2 separate regions of the Homo sapiens genome follow, and region 1 is linked to region 2. The links are contacts of gene promoters, found by promoter capture Hi-C in human tissues and cell types (Jung and others, 2019). All regions are on one chromosome and are shown on one strand. Each heading gives the region's core, a stretch centred on a gene start or on the middle of the fragment in contact. The rest is flanking DNA. Distances are from core to core; before and after follow the strand shown.

Evidence for each region. The method cuts DNA at HindIII sites, captures the fragments that hold promoters and counts their contacts. A contact is called where the count stands out against the background at its distance.
Region 1: a contact is called between a fragment that was not itself captured here and the fragment with the promoter of ZNF562 in region 2, in 1 of the 25 tissues and cell types used here (hippocampus).

The regions. Positions count from the first base shown.
Region 1 is chr19:9,707,423-9,710,641 of GRCh38, reverse strand. LOC105372270 (a long non-coding RNA gene) reads right to left here and starts at 982. Exons shown (of 2, transcript NR_187774.1): 1 at 650-982. RefSeq lists a silencer at 2,302-2,502. The HindIII fragment of the contact is 3,025 bases long and covers 1-2,896 here.
Region 2 is chr19:9,673,385-9,676,507 of GRCh38, reverse strand. ZNF562 (zinc finger protein 562) reads left to right here and starts at 1,408. Exons shown (of 6, transcript NM_001130031.2): 1 at 1,408-1,493. RefSeq lists enhancers at 202-1,201, 1,464-1,523, 1,202-1,701, 1,240-2,439. The HindIII fragment of the contact is 2,519 bases long and covers 788-3,123 here.

The DNA of each region.
Region 1 (3,219 bases), core at 135-2,634, 34 kb before region 2:
TTCATTATTCTTCTAATATTTTAACATTAGGCCTAGGGGACTATCAGGGGAATATTATTGTTGCTAGCTTTATCCTTTTTCTTACCTTGTTTGGGGTATTTCCCATCTTGATGGTTTTAGGGTGAGGCTCAATCTCCCCTACTGGAGATTTCTTGCCTTTTGGGGTAAGTCTCAATTTCCCCTACTGGAAATTTCTTGCAATATGGGGTGAGGCTCAATTTCCCCTAATGGAAATTTTTTGCCTTCCTTGCTACTGGAGGTTCCTGTGAGGCTCAATCCCCCCTACTGGGAATTTTTTGCCTCTTCTTTCACTTCATCCTTCTCTAGCCATGTTAGGTCCCTCTTGGCATTGGTGGGTTGGTATAAACCCCCATCCTGGACTCCTTTACAGGTGGGTCACCCTAAGCCATATGAGGTGACCACAGAACTGCAGATCTAGACTTAACACTCATTTCACATGCAATTGTGCATCTTATTCATACACTATTAACTTCCAAGATACCCCTTCCAAGGAATACTTCACCACCCCCGCAGTTTTTCATGCCTTGGTGTGTCCTCACCAAGGAATATTTCACTGCCCCTGTGGCTTTTCTTAGCTTGGTCATGACCACCTAGGAAATACTTTGCCAGCTCCTGCAGCATTTCTTACCTTGGTCTGTGGACAGAGTTATCTGGTCACCACGGTATTTGTAGGTCTTTTCTTCCCATGTTGCTGAGAGTCCGGGTTTATTCATCACACTAGGGGGGTCTCCATTCCTTACCCCTGAGGCTACTGCAATGAGGCAGTGGGGCATGTGTCCTCACAGGAGAGGATGGAAAACCCTCTGGGAGGAGAATGGGGTCCTTGTACAGGCCACCAAATTGTTAGAAACATACTATTTGTGCTGCAAAAGAAATAGCAGTCGAACATAAATTTTCTCAGAAAGTCAAATTTACTTCTACAGAAGCATGTGTCTCGTGGATGGAGCAATGGCAAGAGCTCATCAGACAAAAGACAGCAGGGGTTTTTAATCCCTAATGCACTTGGCCTTAGTTGATGTGTCATTCCCCTATTGGTTGGGGTTGAACCACACAGTCTAAACTGAATGCAGTTAGCTAATTTGAAGAGTACAGGGAAGAACAGTTGTGGCAGGGAAGGCTGTTACAGCAGGGAGGGGGTGACTTCTTGGTGGGCATGCCTGAGCACAGCAGGATGGGAGGGGCTGATAGACTGGTGGGCAAGGTTAATTTAAGCAACAGGGAAATAAGACTTCAGGACAGACAGTACAAGGAAGTAAAGACCTCTTGCAGAGGAACACTTTGTAACAAAATGAAACCCTTTGAAGAGGAACTATCTAAACTACTTGTTTTTAACATTTATATTCGCATGTTTCTGGAGGCTGAAAATCTGAGATCAGAGTGCCAGCATGGCCCACTTCTGGTGAGAGCTCTCTTCCTGGCATGTAAATGCCTAATTCCTCATGTCTTCACATGATGGAGACCAAGAAACGGGTCGTGCTCTCACTCTCGCTCTCCCTCCCCACAGCCCCTTGTGTCCCTCGACCTCATTTAATGATACTCCCTAAAGATCCTATTTTGACATACACTCACATTGGGGTTTGGGGCTTCAACAAATGAATTTTGGGGTCATTGTTCAGTCCAAAGTACTTAATATGACTCTTTTCCCTTTCCACATAGGCAGTGAGATAATCTGTAAGTAATGACTTATTTTTCCCTTTCAGTCATTAGGTTATATAAATATATATTTTCTTGCTTTACTGAATGGATTTTAACCTCCAGCACAACACCAACTAAAAGTAGTAATGTCAGCATAGTTGTCTTTGCAGTTGTGGTGAGATATGTGCTCTATTTTATTGGCTTGGCTGTAGGTTTTTATTTTTTGAAGCTTCTATCTCCTACAGGAATATATATAATCCCAGCACTTTGGAAGGCCGAGATGGGCAAATCACAAGGTCAGGAGTTCAAGACCAGCCTGGCCAACATGGTGAAACCCCATCTCTACTAAAAATACAAAAAATTATCTGGGCTTAGTGGTGGCCACCTGTAATCCCAGCTACTTGGGAGGCTGAGGCAGGAGAATCGCTTGCACCCGAGAGGCGGAAGTTGCAGCGAGCTGAGATCATGCCACTGCACTCCAGCCCTGGTGATGTAGCAGGACAAGCCACAGACAAAACTCCGCAGACACGGAGCTAAAGAAGGAAGAGGTTTATTCAGCCGGGAGCATCGGCAGGACTCCTGTCTCAAGAGCCGAGCTCCCCGAGTGAGCAATTCCTGTCCCTTTTAAGGGCTCCCAACTCTAAGCGGGTCCATGTGAGAAGGTCGTGGTCGATTGAGCAAGCAGGGGGTACGTGACAGGGGCTGCATGCACCGGTGCTCAGAGTGAAACAGAACCGACCGGGAAGTTTTACAATGCCTTTCCATACAATGTCTGGAATCCATAGATAACATAACTGGTTAGGTCAAGGGTCGATCTTTAACTACCAGGCTTAGGCCTGGTTTAGGGTCTGGTTCCTAGGCACCAGGCTACCTGCCTTTAGTTTTGCTTTTCTTTCTTTTTCTGAGTATAAAACAACATAAAACAATATGAGAGGGTCTGTCTTCTCTCATTTCCCGGCTTTGAGACTCTCACTTTTTATTAGTGGGAATTCTCACTCTTATTTTTGCTACTTATGTCTTCCTGTGCAATAGATTGATAATGATTCATACAGTACACTTGTGCTAATACATAACATGAAGGGACATTGAGAGACTGGGCTATATGCTCGGCTAATTGCAAAAACAAATTTCTTGTTTTTCCTGGAATTTCTGGTACTGGCACATTCAGTTCATCATAGAAGGTTTGAAATACTGGCTCAGGAGAGGGTTTATAAACTTTTCCTCAAACCACGATATTTACTTGAAGATCCAGTCCAGCTCCATCAATTTCTAGGGTTACACATTCCCCTTTTTTCTAGCGAGGATTAAAGGGGTTTGTTATTACTAGTTCTAAGGGGTTATACGGACCACTGGTACAGGAATGGCCACTTTTCCCTTGGTGAAGGTGGACTGCATTTTTTCATTTTTTATCCAAGTAGCCTAAATGACACAAGACCAGTATCTACATTTATTTTTACACAGTCTTAATTTATGATAAACATACTTATTTTCTGTCATATAGCCTCTTTCTTAATTAAGAGAACCACATCCTATTTTTAACTTATTACTATTAATGACAGCACA
Region 2 (3,123 bases), core at 159-2,658:
AAAAAGAAAACGCAATGGAAACAGCAGGTTCTATAAAATAAAGAATGAAAAAATAGGCTGGGCGCGGTGGCTCACGCCTGTAATCCCAGCACTTTGGGAGGCCGAGGCGGGTGGATCATGAGGTCAGGAGATGGGGATCATCTTGGCTAACACCGTGAAACCCCGTCTCTACTAAGAATACAAAAAAATTAGCTGGTTGTGGTCGCGGGCGCCTGTAGTCCCAGCTACTTAGGAGGCTAGGCAGGAGAATGGTGTGAACCCAGGAGGCGGAGCTTGCAGTGAGCCGAGATTGCACCACTGCACTCCAGCCTGGGGGACAGAGAGAGACTCCGTCTCAAAAAAAAAAAAAAAAGAAAAAGAAAAAGAAAAAATAAAGGCCTACAGAAAGAATGACTGAATGGAAGAGACAGACCATGCCATCTATCACTGGCAGGTTTAATATGGAAGAATCATGGAAAGGCTCCAGGAACATGAGGAGCGGCATACAAAAAAGCTTGACACACACACACACACACACACACACACACACACACACACATATATATATATTTTTTCTTTTTGAGATGAAGTCACGCTCTTGTCCCCCAGATTGGAGTGCAGTGGCGCAACCTCGGCTCACCGCAACCTCCGCCTCCCGGGTTCAAGCGATTCTCCTGCCTCAGCCTCCTGAGTAGCTGGGATTACAAGCGCCTGCCACCACACCCAGCTATTTTTTTGTATTTTTAGTAGAGACGGGGTTTCAGCATGTTGGCCAGGCTGGTGTCAAACTCCCGACCTCAGGTGATCCGCCCGCCTTGGCTTCCCAAAGTGCAGGGATTACAGGCGTGAACCACTGGCGCTTGGCCTTATATATATATTTTAATAGAGACAGGGTCGAGCCGGGCACAGGCCTGGGCAACAAGAGTGAAACTCTGTCTCAAAAAAAAAAAAAAAAAAAAAAAGAAAAGAAAAAAAAAGACACACGGTCTTGCTATTTCACTCAGGCTGGTCTGGAACTCTTGGACTCAAGCTATCCACCTGCCTTAGCCTCCCAAAGTGCTGGAATTACAGGCGTGAGCCACTGAGCCCGCCCAGGATAAGCTTTGGAGGAGCATCCTCTGGGGTGCGTCCCATCCCCCATCCCCGCCTTTCCAACCCGTCTGGGCACCTGAAACGCGGGCTAGGCCGGGTCCCACCTCTAAACCGCCCCCAAATATGGGCCCCACCCCTCGCCCACGGTTCCGTCCAGAGGTCCGGTTCTAAACTCATCTTTTTCTCTGAACCCGTTTCTGCATCCCGCTCCCTGAGCCAACCCCAGGCACTGTCCGGCACCCACCCAGGAGGAAACTAGAATTTCTTTGTCCTACGTGCCTGAAACTCAAGCCCTGGAGCCCCACCCGGCCGGAGGCTCGGAGCGGAAGTGACGTCAGTGTGCCACCGCCATCTTTACCGGCTGTGGCTCAGCATGGTCAGTGCCGTTTAACCTTTATTGTGGTGGAGTCCACCCCGCTGTGGTGAGTTCTACCTGCTTGGGGGTCCGGGACATACCAGCGGGGCGGCAAAGGAAGGATTGGGCGTGGTCGCCCAGGAGCCTCTCAGATCCGCCTAGTTTCACTCGCTTTTCTAGGGGCTGTCAGTCCTCCTGGTGCGGCCTCTGGCCAGTTCCGAGAGGCCGCACAGTCCGTCTGGCTGCGTCGGGAAGTGTGTTTGTTCCGCCTCCGCCGGGTGTTTTCTTGAGTACTTTCATCCGCTGTGCTCCTCTCTTGAAAAGCTTGGAAAGCAACCTTTGGGAGTTTTTTTCTTTCCGAAAGGAAAAGGATTTCTGCCCTTCTGGTGAGGTTGGCTCTGGCCCCGCATTCTCCCGCGTCTGGAACCTATCTCTTCCGGCATGTTCCTGGTGAGCAACGGCGGAAAAATGGTTTCAAGAGGGCTGTGACTTCCATTTATTTGCTAAAAAATGTCTCATCTGAGAATCTGGCGTTGTCTTGATGTCCTTTACTTTTTTTTTTTTTTTGATTTGGAGTCTTACTCTGTCGCCCACGCTGGAGTGCAGTGGCACGATGTTGGCTCACTGCAACTTTCACCTCCCGGGTTCAAGTGATTGTTAGATATGAGTTTTAAATTTCTTTTTAAAAAATCAATATGTCAGTATGTTTAATTCTTTGCCTTCTACTTTTAAACTTCTCCGTAAAGCAACCTTTTTCGATCACCTGCTCCACCCTGACTCATTCTGATTACCTGCTCCACCCAGACTTATTTCGATTACTTACTCCACCCTGACTCATTTTCCACCCTGACTCATTCCAATTTCCTGCTCTGTTATAACCATTTTCCCCAACAAACCACTCACCCTGTCACTCTCTTTAAATTAGCCAATTGGAATTAGTTTAGCCTGTGGGGTCTAACCCTAGCCATCGGGGAAGGACAAAGCGGCAGGGGCCACTTTCCTCAAGAATAAGAACCCCTTCCCCTCCCTTGTCCTGGTGTGTGCTCACCATTGCTCCATCTGTGAGGGCACACCCTTCTGTAGAAGTAAATTGCCTTGCTGAGAAAAGAAAATGTTATATTTGAGTGCTTTTTTTTTGTGGCATGAAAACTTTATAACATGATTCACCTGCCTCAGCCTCCCGAGTAGCTGGGATTCCAGGCGTGCACCACCACACCTGGCTAATTTTTTATATTTTTGGTAGAGATGGGGTTTCACCATGTTGGCCAGGCTGGTCTCGAACTCCTGACCTCAAGTGATCCACCCGCCACTTATTTTTGACACATTACATTCAGATGGAAAAAACATAGTTGTTTAGGGTGTGCCCGTTTTTGTATGTAAATATGAACGCGTGTAGACTAAGCCTTTAGTTTTTAATTTTTATTTTCTTGCAGGTTATTTTTTTTCTAATTGTTACCAGCTGCAAGCCTTTCTACTTAAAGCCAGGCCAGATGCACTGGCTCACACCTGTAATCACAGCACTTTGGGAGGCAGAGGCAGGCGGATCACCTGAGGTCAGGAGATCCAGACTAGCCTAGCCAACATGGTAAAACCCTGTCTCTACTAAAAATACAAAAATTAGCCGGGCTTGGTGGTGGGCCCCTGTAATCCCAGCTGTTGGAGATAAAAAAATAAAACGCTGGGTGCTGCAAAGTGAA